5 separate regions of the Homo sapiens genome follow, and all the other regions are linked to region 4. Evidence: promoter capture Hi-C in human tissues and cell types (Jung and others, 2019). All regions are on one chromosome and are shown on one strand. The core of a region is centred on a gene start or on the middle of the fragment in contact, and the rest is flanking DNA. Distances in the headings are between cores, read along the strand shown. Region 1 holds the start of PLCD3 (phospholipase C delta 3). Region 2 overlaps GPATCH8 (G-patch domain containing 8). Region 3 holds the start of UBTF (upstream binding transcription factor). Region 4 holds the start of DBF4B (DBF4B-CDC7 kinase regulatory subunit). Region 5 overlaps GPATCH8 (G-patch domain containing 8).

The links. The method cuts DNA at HindIII sites, captures the fragments that hold promoters and counts their contacts. A contact is called where the count stands out against the background at its distance.
Region 1: a contact is called between the fragment with the promoter of PLCD3 here and the fragment with the promoter of DBF4B in region 4, in 1 of the 25 tissues and cell types used here (IMR-90 fibroblasts).
Region 2: a contact is called between a fragment that was not itself captured here and the fragment with the promoter of DBF4B in region 4, in 1 of the 25 tissues and cell types used here (adrenal gland).
Region 3: a contact is called between the fragment with the promoter of UBTF here and the fragment with the promoter of DBF4B in region 4, in 1 of the 25 tissues and cell types used here (dorsolateral prefrontal cortex).
Region 5: a fragment that was not itself captured here is called in contact with the fragment with the promoter of DBF4B in region 4 in 2 of the 25 tissues and cell types used here (bladder and pancreas).

What each region holds. Positions count from the first base shown.
Region 1 is chr17:45,131,265-45,133,964 of GRCh38, reverse strand. PLCD3 (phospholipase C delta 3) reads left to right here and starts at 1,450. Exons shown (of 15, transcript NM_133373.5): 1 at 1,450-1,717. The coding sequence starts at 1,555. It also overlaps a transcript of ACBD4 not described here. RefSeq lists an enhancer at 657-726 and silencers at 1,197-1,416, 1,517-1,646. The HindIII fragment of the contact is 27,952 bases long and covers 1-2,700 here.
Region 2 is chr17:44,449,960-44,452,659 of GRCh38, reverse strand. The region is part of intron 3 of GPATCH8 (G-patch domain containing 8); the gene reads left to right. Among named protein-coding and RNA genes, the nearest start is that of GPATCH8, 52 kb to the left of the region's middle. The HindIII fragment of the contact is 3,187 bases long and covers 1-2,700 here.
Region 3 is chr17:44,218,285-44,220,984 of GRCh38, reverse strand. It overlaps UBTF (upstream binding transcription factor), which reads left to right and starts at 1,310. Exons shown (of 21, transcript NM_014233.4): 1 at 1,310-1,540; 2 at 2,689-2,700. All of the region lies in intron 1 of ATXN7L3-AS1 (ATXN7L3 antisense RNA 1), which reads right to left. RefSeq lists silencers at 1-93, 604-1,293, 1,420-1,584, 1,344-2,363, 2,414-2,583. The HindIII fragment of the contact is 22,653 bases long and covers 1-2,700 here.
Region 4 is chr17:44,707,363-44,710,062 of GRCh38, reverse strand. DBF4B (DBF4B-CDC7 kinase regulatory subunit) reads right to left here and starts at 1,398. Exons shown (of 14, transcript NM_145663.3): 1 at 1,224-1,398; 2 at 697-759. The coding sequence starts at 1,242. RefSeq lists enhancers at 564-1,077, 1,078-1,592. The HindIII fragment of the contact is 13,873 bases long and covers 1-2,700 here.
Region 5 is chr17:44,432,345-44,435,044 of GRCh38, reverse strand. All of the region lies in intron 5 of GPATCH8 (G-patch domain containing 8), which reads left to right. Among named protein-coding and RNA genes, the nearest start is that of ITGA2B, 44 kb to the right of the region's middle. The HindIII fragment of the contact is 4,000 bases long and covers 1-2,700 here.

The DNA.
Region 1 (2,700 bases), core at 201-2,700, 420 kb before region 4:
ATGTAGACTTAGCCTATCCAACAACAAGAATAACAAAAGGGTAAACCAGGAGAATAAGGAAGGTTGTTTCTGGAGGAAGGAACGGCAGGATCAAAAGCACAAAGGCGAATACGATAATCAAGAAGAAAATTCAGGGCCGGGCGCGGTGGCTCACGCCTGTAATCCCAGCACTTTGGGAGGCCGAGGCGGGCGGATCACGAGGTCAGGAGATCGAGACCATCCCGGCTAAAACGGTGAAACCCCGTCTCTACTAAAAATACAAAAAATTAGCCGGGCGTAGTGGCGGGCGCCTGTAGTCCCAGCTACTTGGGAGGCTGAGGCAGGAGAATGGCGTGAACCCGGGAGGCGGAGCTTGCAGTGAGCCGAGATCCCGCCACTGCACTCCAGCCTGGGCGACGGAGCGAGACTCCGTCTCAAAAAAAAAAAAAAAAAAAAAAAAAAAAAGAAAATTCAGGACCCCAGAGTGGCGTAGGGACCCAAGCCAGTGTGCAGAATCTCTGGGCCTGGGAGATCTGAGGATGGGGTAGAGCAGGGCAAGTAGGTGGCAAATCAGGCCCTGAGCACTAGCCTCTCTGTAGGATGCCACGCCGCTGGCCGCCGCAAAGTGGCGGTGTGCGCCCATGTCTCTGCCGGACCCAGGCCACCGGCCGCAGAAACGCTGCCACCTGGACGTCCCCCACTTCGCGCACGCACTCTGGTGCTTGCATATAAATAGTAAGTGCACACCCGACTCGGCCACCAGAACCTGCACACGGATGCCCACCCACGGGTTGACGTCGCGGACAACTACACCGCGGGTGCCGGGCTGGGGTGCCGGCCTGTCCAAGCCTCGAACCCAGAACCAGTTGCTGGGGACTCCAGGCTCGGCTCCGCCTCACGCTCCCCAGGTCCGTCAGCTCCGAGACTGTGGCTCTCCGAGGGGGCAGCACCTGGCCTGGCACAGGGAGGTTAATCCTATGACGTCACTGCCAACCTCCCCACCCCCATGCCCATCCCTTCGGGTTCGCGCTGCCCCGAGCGGCTCAGCTCCCGGGGTTCTGCCTTCGCTCCCGGCCCTGCGTCCTGTCCCGGCTCTGGTTCCCTGCTGAGGCCTGCGGCGCGACGGGGACGCGGAAGGGAAGGAGGAGGGGGTCCTGCGTCAGCCTCGAGTCAGGGCCCCCGGGAAGGAGAGGGTGTCTGTGCCAGAGGATGGCCCTCGTCCCCGGTGCCGGCTCCCACCCCCAGCCCCGCAGCATGGGGGCTCTAGTCACCCTTGCGGCCAAGATCAGAGGCTCGCCCGGACTAAGGGGAGACGGACTCACGAGCAGGGGCGAGCGCTGAGGCTCCGGGCTTCCAGGCCACCGCCTGGCCCCGCCCTCGCACCGCCCCGGCCCCGCCCCCTTCCCTTCCCGCCCCGCCCCGCCCCACCTCCTGCTGCCTCCTCCGACTCCCTCCCGCGCCGCTAAGTTTCTTCGCTCGCCGCCTCGCTCAGAGCCGGGGCCGGGCCAGAGCGGCGCCCCGCTGCCCTGTCCCCGCGTGCAGACCCCGGGCCCGGCCCCGGCCCCCCGCCAAGCCATGCTGTGCGGCCGCTGGAGGCGTTGCCGCCGCCCGCCCGAGGAGCCCCCGGTGGCCGCCCAGGTCGCAGCCCAAGTCGCGGCGCCGGTCGCTCTCCCGTCCCCGCCGACTCCCTCCGATGGCGGCACCAAGAGGCCCGGGCTGCGGGCGCTGAAGAAGATGGGTCAGTGACGGGCAAGGGGCGGTGGGGTGGGCGCGGACCGTTCCCAGAGGCCCAGTCTGGGGCGCTCCAGGGAGCAGTTCGTGGATTCCCCAGGCTGCACGGGGCTGGGAGGCTATGGCTAGGGGCGGAGGGCCAGCTCCCTCCAGCTGGGGGTCGCACCTGGGGTCATCCGAGGGTCCCGGGGCGAGCCGGGCGCCCAGGGTGTTCTTTGCTTCCCACCAGGGGGCGCTCGCGGGGCGTCTGAAGCGCGAATTCGGGCACGGGGCGCTGGTGGGGTCTCCAAGGAGAATGGAGCGGGAGAGGGAGGCTTGGGGTGTCCCTCGTCCGGCTCCCCAGCAGTATCTAGGTTCTGCCAGGGTGTCTCGGGGTCTTGGCAGCCCTTAGGAAGGATGCGAGTTTGCGGTCGGCCTCCGCAGAAGAGGCTGGCCTCCACAGCAGCCCTCCAAGCCGCGGCCCCACAGAGGCGGCCACAGCCACACTGCTCTGGCAGGACTGGTCTAACAGCCTACGTCCGACAGCCAAGGCTCTCACCTCAGATTTGGGGAAGTCAGTCGTGGAGAAGGAATGTAACTGTGGCTCATTGGAACATCACAGAGGCAGCTGGCACTGGGTGGGTTACACAGGTGGTGTCTTGCAATCTTCCTCGACTTCCTAGGTGGGAGGTGAATCCTCATTTCACAAGTGAGGAAACTGACTCAGAGACGGCAAGGAATTTGCCTATGACCACACAGCCAACAAAGGGCAAAGTGTGACTGGCACCCCGGTGGTGCCCCACCACATGGGCCCTGGTACCCTCTCAGAGTCTGGGAAAAGTGGGACCCGCAGGGCAGTGGAGGGCTTGAATGAGAGGGTGTGTGCGAGAATGTTGTCTGACGTGGAAAGGACCGCGCCACTGAAGTGCTGCGTTGGACCTGCCATTGGTAGAATAGTCAGTGATGGAGAGGCTAGGTGTGGAACTCCGGAACAGAAGGACAAGGCTGCCA
Region 2 (2,700 bases), core at 16-2,515, 260 kb after region 4:
CTGCTCAAAGAATGTCTGAGGATGGAGATGGAAAACCATTTAGAAAGTTGTCTGGGTATGAGTATAGATAAGGACTTGAAAGAGTAATAGTGGAAATGGAAAGGAAGGAATAACTATGAAGGCTGATAAAACAGGTCAACTATGAAGACAATATATAGTCAGTTTATGCACATGTTTGACTAGCAAGCCCCTATTCACTAGATTTAGTGTTAATCTTTTATAATAGCCATCATTTATTAAGTGTTTACTGAGTGCTTGGACATGGATTTTCTAACTTAAATCCTCTTTGAGGTAGATACTCCCATTTTACCCAAAGAGCATTTTACCAAAAGATCTTTGCCCAAGATCTTTTTTCCTTTTTTTTTTTTTCTTTTTTTTTTTTTTTTTGAGACGGAGTGTTGCTCTGTCACCCAGGCTGGAGTGCAGTGGTGCAGTCTCGGCTCACTGCAACCTCCACCTCCCTGGTTCAAGCAATTCCCCTGCCTCAGCCTCCCAACTAGCTGAGATTATAGGTGCATGCCACCACACCTGACTAATTTTCCTGTATTTTTATTAGAGACGGGGTTTCACTATGTTGGCCAGACTGGTCTCAAACTCCTGACCTCGGGCAATCCGCCCGAATCGGCCTCCCAAAGTGCTGGGATTACAGGCTTAAGCCACCACGCCCAGCCTGCCCAAGATCTTACAGCAGATAAGTGGTAGAATCTTGGTGCCAAAACCTATGCTTTTAACCAATATGCTGTAATGTACCTAAACTGTAGGTGCTAGCTTACTTCCCTATCCTGGAGAGATATGATGGTGGTGAGAAATACCAGTGCCACCGAATTGAAATATACAGTAGTTATTCAGGCCAGAAAAAGTGGAGATAATTCTGAATGTGATATATTCTCGTAGGGCACTTGAAGTGGTCATATATATTCTTCATGATGAGTATAAATTCACTAGAAACTTAAGGCTAAAGTTGAGTGGTAAGAACTTTTGCCAAATATTTAGGGATGGAAATTGGTGTCCAGGGAAAAAGAAAATACTGTAACTTATGTCTCATACTATAATTTCCTCCCTGACTTCTACTTTCTGTTTCTCTCCTGTGGCATTTTAAATATTCAATCTTGTATAATTTTTGTTGATGTGTCTCTTTTACCTAATTCAGTAGACTGTAAATTCCTAAAGGATAGTAATTACTGTGCATTTATGTATTCTCTGTTGCTGTTTTTCTTGTTTTGTATTCTGCATATGTTTATTGCATGCTTAAAAGGTGCCAGATCTGGGTTGGGTGTGGTGGCTCACGACTGTAATCACAGCTCTATGGGAGGACGAGGCAGGTGGATCACTTGAGGCTAGGAGTTCAAGACCAGCCTGGCCAACATGGCGAAACCCTCTCTACCAAAATATACAAAAATTAGCCAGGCATGTTGGTGCACGCCTGTAATCCCAGCTACTTGGAAGGCTGAGGCATGAGAATAGCTTGAACTCAGGAGGCGGAGGTTACAGTGAGCCGCCTGGGTGACAGAGTAAGACTCTGTCTCCAAAGAAAAAGAGAAAAAGAATGTGCCAGATCTGTACTAAGTCTTTAAGAGTGAATAAGATAGAACCTCTGCCCTCCAGAGGTTTATTTCTAATAGGGAAACAAATAATGTAACAAATTTAATACAGTATAATGATTGTTTTAATTGTGAAGTTAAAGGTACAGTGGAAGCTTAATAGAGAATTGAGCAATTTAAGTTATAATTTCAAATTTTTTATAATAATTAACAAGTGAAAAGTCTCAGATTGTGAGAATAAAGAAGCAACCAACTATTTTCTATCTGTGCATCTATACTTGCTGATAGATACATGGAGTACAGGTGTCTGTGAGTTAGTGGAATCTCTTTATTCTTCCATGAGAAGCGTTGGTATTTTAAAGTGGAATGAAATCTGAAAATGATAAGAACATAAAGTAAAAAGTGTTTTATAATAAACATATTTTATTAAAATCTTTCAAAAGTTCATTTAAAATTTACCACCAAAATTCAAAACAATGGCACTTAAAACACTCGGAAAAGAGAACAAAGTGTAATATATTTTTATGTAGTATTTCAAATGTAGTTTATTAGTTTTAAATCCAGTATTTCCTTTCTCACTAAATCTTCCCAAACCAGTAGATAGAAATCCCACTTGGTTTTCTTGTAAATCCCATTTGGTTCAAAAGGAGGGAGCAAAGAATGTAGACCTGAAGTAGGAGTTGGGGCCCGATGATAGCATACGTTGTTGAAATTGAGTGAGTGTGAGACAATAGCAAGTGGTGTGAGTTTTGCTGTGTTTAGAGAAGGTAATTGTTGCCACCTAAGATTATAATCTCAGTGTTGCTGGATCTTCTAAAATTGTTAAAAGCAGCCAGGAATTCAGATTCCTTTTCTGTGAAATGTTCTAATTGATAAATGTTGGCTTGAAGTCTAAAATAATGAAATTAAACAAAACATACCAGGCTGTATTTGAACCGCAAGTTACTACTTTGTGAGCTCATCTGAAATTTCACCTGGGTTCAATTCTAACTCTGCAACTAGTAAGCACTGTGACCTTGCTATACCCTCCATATAGCCATATTTTTACAAGATTTGGGGGTGTCAGGAATTAAATATGGCTATATGTTTTATATACCTATATATTTCTCTCTCCAGTATATAGAATAAGACATAATGCCACTTAAAAGATTGAGAAACT
Region 3 (2,700 bases), core at 61-2,560, 490 kb after region 4:
CGGCTCTGACGGGCAAGCGCTCGGAGCGGCGCTGCGCTGCGCCGAGGCGGGCGGGCGGGCGGGCGGAGCGGGGCGGGCGGAGCGCGGCGCGTGGGGCTCGCCATTAGCCGTCGCTCCGCTTCGCCATCTCGGGCTTTGTCTGGCGACTCGCTGCCCCGGCGTCGGCTGCAGCGGAGCTGCGGCTCGACTGTTCGGCCCGCCGTGCTCCCAGGTGCCCCCGGCCTGCGCTCCCATCCACACGCTCGGTAAGTGAGCCCGGGAGCCGCGGATTTCGGGGGAGAGGGGTTGCTACGAGTGGCGGCGGCGCCGATCTTCATGCGCCCGGGCAGGCCTGGAGAACCATGCCGGGCTGGATTGAACCGGCTCCCACAGCGGCCCCTCCGCCGGAGCCCGTCGTTCCCTTGCCGTTTCCGGGGTGTAAAGAGCAACGGGGATTTTTTTTTTTTAATGCAGAGGTTTTAGTTTTCGGGTTTTTTTTTAAGTTTCGTATGTGCCGTTCGGCAAGGAGAGGACCGCGAGGTAGGCACCGAAGCTGGACGCCGCGATCGGCGTGCGTGCGCCCCAAACCAGCGGCCACGCTCCGGGGGATGAGGGTGGGCGCGGACCGCTCGCTCCGGGAGGCGGGAGAGAGCTGGCCTGGAAGCCCTAGTCTGAGCTGGGAGAACTTGGGGGAGAGCTCCGGAGCAGGGCTGTGGGCGCCCCCCGAGCCTCCCCGGACGCCGGGGGCACCTCCGGGCACCCTCTCCGCGGCCGCACCTCGGCCCTCCCTCGCCGGCGAAGCCTGCTAGTTCCCCCGCGGGTCTGGCGAGGTCGCTCTCGGCGCCCGCCCGCCCGCCTAGGCTCCGAGCCCCGCCGCCATCCGGGCGGCTGCGTGTCTCCCTGCCCCGGCCCCCCCCCCCTTCCCCGGCGGCGGCAGCAGCAGCAGCAGCAGCCGCCGCCGCCGCCAGCACCACCACCACCACCCCCCTCCCCTCCTTCCTTCCCTCCGCCTCGGCCGCCCGGGTCCCCCCAGCTCCCGCCCCTCCTCCCAGCTGCCCCCCGCGGAGCCCGCCCGGGCAGGCTGTGGGAGGGAGCGGAGCCGGCGAGGCGGGCGGGCTGGCGCTCGCTCCCCGGGGGTCGGTGTGCGCTCTACGGGGAAGGACGCGCTCGCTGCCCCGCTTCTCCCGCCCCCCCTCCCGCTCCTCCTCCTCCCTTCTCCCTCCTCCTCCCCGCTCCGGCGGCTGAGGCTGCGGCGGCGGCGGGGGGTGTGCGAGCTGAGGCCGGGGCCGGCGGCGGGCGGGCTGCCTGCAGGCGGAGGGCGCTGTGCTTTGTGCTTTTCGCCGCGAGGAGCAGCAGGCAGCAGCCACAGCCGCCGCCGCCGCCGCCGCCGCCACAGCAGCAGCAGCCGCCGCCCCAGCGCCGCCGCCTCGCCCGGAGGAGGAGCCGCTGCCGCCGCGGGAGGGAGCTGCGGCTGTGCCCGGCCGAGCGGGGGAGGGCGCCGCCACTCAGAGCCAGGGAGGGAGCCGCTGGAGCGGGAAGCCCGGAGGCCGCGCTGCGCCGGGTAACCGAGGCGGCTGAGGACGCGCGCTGGGGTCGGGGCCGGACGGCGGGAGCGAACCGCGGGGTGCGGTGGGCGCCCAGCGGGGACCCGAAGCGACCACCGAGCAGGCGACCGGGCGCGAGCAGACCAGGGCACTTGGGAGGACGCCGAGAGCCGGGGGAGGGGAAGGCAGGAAGCGAGGCCTGAGCCGAGCCCCGGCCGCTGGCGGAGGAGCCCGCGCTTCTCGGAGCCGGCAGGCGCAGTTCTCCCCGGCCGCCGGAGGGGGCGGCGGGGCCGGTGAGCGCTGCGCCCCCGCCTCCCGGCCGCCGTCCTCCCGCCCTCTCCTTGGCTCGGCTCCCCGGAGGCCGGGGCGGGGGCGCCGGCGGGGCTGGGCCGCAGGCTCGGGGGAGGAGGCGGCGGTTCCCGCCGCGGTCGCGCCTCTGTGCCGGGCTCCTCCGTGCGCGTCGGGGTGGCTGGGCGGTGGCGGCGCCTCTGGCCGGGGTGGGTGGCTCGGGGGCGGGGGGCAGGCTAGGCCGCTTCTCTCCGGCTGCTTGCCCGCCTGTGCGGGCGGGGACGGCGAAGGGAGCCCGGGAGGGGGGAGCGGCGGGAATCCGGATCCGGTCCCCGGGGGCGGTGCGGCCGCTCCGCTCCGGGGCTGGCGGCGGCTGCGCTGCGTCCGGGTCCCCGCCGGGTTGCGGAGGCGGGGGGAACCGGCCGGGGGGAGGCGGGAGGAGGAGACTGGGGCGCGTGCCCGCTTCCGTGGCCGCGCGCGCCCTTTACCCGCCCTTCCTCTTCCCCCGCCCTCCAGCCTGGGGCCTCCCCGGGGCGGGCGCTCCGAGGAGGAGGAGATTTTTTCTTTTTTTTTTTTTTTGGCTGGGGTTGGGAAGCGGGGCGGAGGGCGGGCGCTCGCTGCACGCGGGAGCTAGGAGCAGGCCCTCGCGTGGCCAGGGGAGGGCGCGCGCCGCGGAGCCGGGCTGCAGGGGCTGGGGGAGGGGGTCACGAGGAAGAGGAGGGGCGCACTCCCATTCCCATAGACCCCTTAAGTCTAATAAGGTCATGGCTGAGTCTCTCAGAGTGTGGACCTGCCCCCTTCTACTCTGGGCGGTTAGAAAGTCGTTAGTCGTTCACCTCTCAGCCTTCCTGAGTGGGAACTGGTATGTCTTCCAAAGGGTGAGGTGGCT
Region 4 (2,700 bases), core at 149-2,648:
TAGCTGGGACTACAGGCACGCCTCACCACGCCCGCCTAATTTTTTGTATTTTTAGTAGAGATGGGGTTTCACTGTGTTAGCCAGGATGGTCTCAATCTCCTGACCTCGTGATCCGCCCGCCTTGGCCTCCCAAAGTGCTGGGATTACAGGCGTGAGCAGCCGCGCCCGGCCAACTAGATGATATTAACTAAAGGGGCAGTACGGAGGGAAGTGCCATGTGCTAAAATACTTACCTAATTAGGTAGCAGTGTTTAACTTAAGGATTTTATTGTAAACAACTATGAATGTATTAATTTATATATTTAATAAGTCACTCTATCCTGACTCCACATCTGTCTGTTAATCTTGTTCATAATATGACTCTTACTTGACCTTTATCATGAATCCCAAAACGGTCTATGATGCTGCGTCCATACACACACACACATAAAACCACTAAGTGGGCCTGGTGAAGTGGCTCACACCTGTAATCCCAGCATTTTGGGAGGCCTAGGCAGGAGAACTGCTTGAGGCCAGGAGTTTGAGACCAGCTTGGCCAACACAGCAAGACCCCATCCCAATAAATAAAATGAATAAATAAGTACATAAAAACACTGAGTGATCGAAAACTCCAACAGGGGGAACATTTTTCGGTCTTCTCCAAGAGACCCTGGGGCAATTTTCACCTCACGTCCCTAGTTCTGTCCTGTTACCCACCTAGGTCCGGGGCCCGGAGCCTACTCTCAGCCATGGAACTCTCCAGCTCGAGGCAATCGTCTCCTGAGAAAGGACATAACAGCAACTCAACCATCTTCACCAACCCTTGGAACTTCCATGCCTCCCGCCCACTACTGTCTCCCAAAACGCGCACAGAAACGCGACTCCTGGGAACAGCAAGACTCAACTCCATTCCGACCTACATCCCGCGACTCCCGCCAGGCTCTTGCCCCTCATGCCCTCCGCCTCCTTTCAGACTCCGTTCAGTCAACGGCCGTGACCTCTTGGCCACCTCCTGTCCATCTCAATCTCCATACATCCCTCCAGGCTGTTGTCCCCTACGTTCCTCTGCCACCTTCATTCCTCGGTCCCCTCAACTCCTGTGGCTCCTTCCCGGCCCCTATACCCTCCTCAGCTTCGGCACCTACCCGCTGGTCACTTCCTAAGCCCCCTCCACGACTCCGCACCTCGCCTCAGCTATTAACGACCCCTTCCGCCTTTCTTTCTCCCCTTCCCGGCATCCGTACCCTTTCCCGGTTCGCTCATCAAATGCCGGCTCCTTCTCGGCCTCCGTACTCCTTCCTCAGAGGCCTCCGTATTACATTCGCGAGCTCCATGAGCTCTTCCCGATTCCACAGTCCTGGTTATCTCAGGGCAGCTACAGCATCAATCTCTTGGCGTTTTCGGCCGCGGCTTCAGTTTAAATTTCCTGCCGGCTCCACCCCTAAAAGAACGCCGTAGCTGCGAGATCCGCCCTACGGTGTCCTTGGAAGGACAATATTAGTTTCGCGATTCCTCTTTCCGTTCCCCCACCGCCTACGTCTTCTCAAACCGTCTCTTCATTTCTTGGCTCTTCACTGGCTAGACGGCTTTGCCCCTTAATGGCCCTCAAGTTGAGGACTAGTGGTCGCTTTTTAGTGATTCTTCACACTGAGCTGCATTGAAATTCCTAGAAGTTTGAATACTAAATAACAAAATAAGCCTAACACTTGCAGAGCATTTGCAGTTTACATAAAGATTTCACTTACACATCATTTCATCTTCACATTTTTGTCCCCCTCCCGTTCTTCAATTATTACCTGCCCAACAAAACTTCTCAAAAGACGTATCTTTATCCCTCACTTCCCATCTTTTCTTCAACCCATCTAATTAGACTGCTAATTAGAGATCAAATTTGATCTAATAAGAGATCATTCAGTGGAGAGCTGGGGACCTCCCCACAAAAACTGTACTTATCCAGGTCAACTGTGATTTCCACAGTCTGAAATACTATCCTTATCATATCCAACTTATAGATGGACTATTCCTTCTTTGAAATACTTTCTTCTTTTTGCTTCCATGACTCAGCACTCTACCGTTTTTTTCCCTATCTCAATGGTTCCTCCTCAGTCCCCTTTGCTGGATCCAAAGCCACTGTTCACCTATATATTTTGGAGTATGCCAACGCTTTAGCCCTTATCCCTCTCCCTTATCTCCCTAGGAGATCTCATCCAGCTCCACAGCTTTACAATTCAGCTCTGCCACACCTTCAGATTTTCTGTAGCTCTGACCTGTCTGATCTCCAGACTCACATATTCAAGTGCCTACTGGCTATTTCAATTTGGATGTCTAATAGGCACCTCAGGCTGAACACATTCAAAACAGAACATTTGTTTCGCTGCCCCTGTCAAAAAACCACCTGTTCTCCCCCCAGGTCTTCCCCTCTCAGTAAAATGTTACTGTTTACTCAAATGTCACAATCATTCACCCAGTTGCTCAAACCAAAAACCTAGAAGTTGTCTTTCAGTACTTTCCCTTGTGCCCATCCCCACTCCAAGAAAAAAATCCTACTAACTCTGCCTCCAAAGTACATCTGGAATCAGACCACCACCACCCTAGTTCAAGCTGCTATCATTTCTTGCCTAAAGTACTGCGGTCAATTCTTCACTTCTACTCCCGAGTAGCTTCCTATCTCTCCCCAGTATAATCCATTCTCCATTCAGCAACCAGAGTGATAGTTTTTAT
Region 5 (2,700 bases), core at 149-2,648, 280 kb after region 4:
ATTGGGAGATGGGGAGGTGCTCACTGAATAAGAAAGAACTCAAATTTTGTTGAAAATCATCACTGTTGCTAACAGCATTTGTTTGACATTTGGTGGTAATTAGTAGTAGATCTCAGATTTCTATTACATTCCTATTTATTGGCTCTGTATAAACTATAGAGATAATAATACCTACTTCTAAAGTGTGTTAGAAAGATTACATGAATTAGTGTTTGAAAACACAATGCCTGTTACATAGTAGGTATTCAAGTAGTGGTAGCAGTAAAAATTGTTAAAAGTCCTTTGAGGCCAGACACAATGGCTCACACTTGTAACCCCAACACTTGCAGAGGCCAGACACAGTGGCTCACACTTGTAACCCCAACACTCAGTAGAGACGGGGTTTCACCATGTTGGTCAGGCTGGTCTCGAACTCCTGACCTTGTGATCCACCCGCCTCGGCCTCCCAAAGTGCTGGGATTACAGGCGTGAGCCACCACGCCAAGCCTAATTTTTGTGTTTTTAGTAGAGATGGGGTTTCACCATGTTGGCCAGGCTGGTCTTGAACTCCTTGCCTCAGGTGATCTGCCTGCCACGGCTTCCCAGTTTGCTGGGATTTCAGGCGTAAGTCACCGCGCTTGACCCCCTTTCTTGTTTTTGAACTTAGCTTAGCTATATATTAAATTTTTGTGTGTTTTATTTTATCCAGAACTATAATATAACCAACTCATCTTCTTTTCCTGCCCCTTTTTCTTTCCCCTTTTTCTTCTCCTTTCCTCTCTCTTTATTCACTCTTCAGCCTATTTATACTGACTTTAGCAGTTTTCACCAAACCACTTTATTCAAGGCCACCAAACACTTCTATTTGCTAAATCCAATAAATCATTTATTTATTTATTTATTTTATTATTATTATTAATATTATTATTTTTTTTAAAGACTGAGTCTCACTCTGTTGCCCAGGCTGGAGTACAGTGGTGTGATCTAAGCTCACTGCTCCCGGGTTCAAGTGATTCTCGTGCCTTAGCCTCCGAGTAGCTGGGACTACAGGTATGAGCCACCACGGCCAGCTAATTTTTTTGAATTTTTGGTAGAGATGGGGTTTCACCATGTTGGCCAGGCTGGTCTCGAACTCCTTACCTCACGTGATCTGCCCACCTCGGCCTCCCAAAGTGTGGGGATTACAGGCGTGAGCCACTGCGCCTGGCATACTCTTTCTTCTTTAAAACATTTTCATTACTCTTGGTTTTGAAGAATTTATACTTTCCTAGATTAGTTGCTTCTTATCTGTCTTGCTGCTTCTATGTAGATTCCTTTGTTGGCTGCTGTTTATTCTGCCTGAACTTCAGATATTGGAGTTCCTCAGCTTCAGACCTGGGCCCTCTTTTTCTGGCTACATTCTTTCTCTAGGCACAAGAGTGGTCATGACACCATGTTTCATCATCTTTCACTTGGTTAAATTTTCTCCTTTGGGTTTTAGCTTAAATATTACCTCATTATAGATCTTCCCTAATCAACTCATTTAAATAATTAACCACTCTGCCTTATTCTCTTGCAACAACCTCTCTTACAATTTGTAATTATAAATTTTTATTCACTAATTTATATTCTGCTTTCTGTACTAGTCAGAAAGGGCATTGAGGAGAGAGAGTATGTCTATTTGTCTGCCAGTATATATCCTGCATCCAGCACAGTGTGTGGTGCATAAGTACTCAATAAATATTAGTTGAATGAATAAATATTTTGAAATAGTGAGAAAAGCCAGATTCATTTTATGTACTGTCTGAAATATAAACATTATAAAGAATACATTTTTATTTTTCAAGTAAAAGTTACACTGTCGAGTGAAAAATAAATGAAATACCTCAGTAATTCACAGCCTCATAAGATTATACATAGTATCTTGAGATGCTCTCTCCCTGGTAATAGAATTATTTCTCGGCTGGGTGCGGTGGATCACGGCTGTGCTTTGGGAGGATTGCTTGAGCCCAGGAGTTTGAGAGCAGTCTGGGCAATGTAGCAAGAATCTGTCTCTACAAAAAGAAAAAAGAAAAAAAATAGCTAGGTGTTGGTGGTGCATGCCTATAAATCCCAGCTACTTAGAGAAGCTGAATTGGGAGGATCACTTGGGCCCAGGAGTTGAAGACAGCAGTGACCTATGATCACACCACTGCACTCCAGCCTGGGCAAGAGCAAGAATTACTTTCCCCATCTTATTGATCAAAATATTTACTCCGAAACCCTGTCAACTCTGAACTACACTGTTTCTAAAATCTTAAATGTCCTATTATCTGACCATGGTCTTTTTTCCTTCCTGCTGTCACTCCTTTATTCTCCTATATTTTTTCTTCAACTTCACATGACTTTGGAAGCTTTAGTAACTTAGCTCCTCCTTAATTTGTACTTTTCCCCTCTAGCACCACACACTCATGTTTACCTCTCACAGCACTTTGATTCCAACTCCCTTTCCTCCTAGTCCTTTTGTCATACATACTCACCAAAAGCCTGTCCCGTTAGTACAAAATGCATTACTTGCATTCTTTATTTCTATACCCTTTCTGCCAACCTCACTGGGCCCTCAGAGCTGCCAATTAATCCTCTCATGTGTCATGTCCCTCTTAGTCCTCTCAGCTGTCATTCTCAAACATTGGTACTCAGCCTTCATCTTTCCTTAACTACCCTTGTCGTATCTCTGCCTTCCCGTATGTTTTTAGTTAAGAA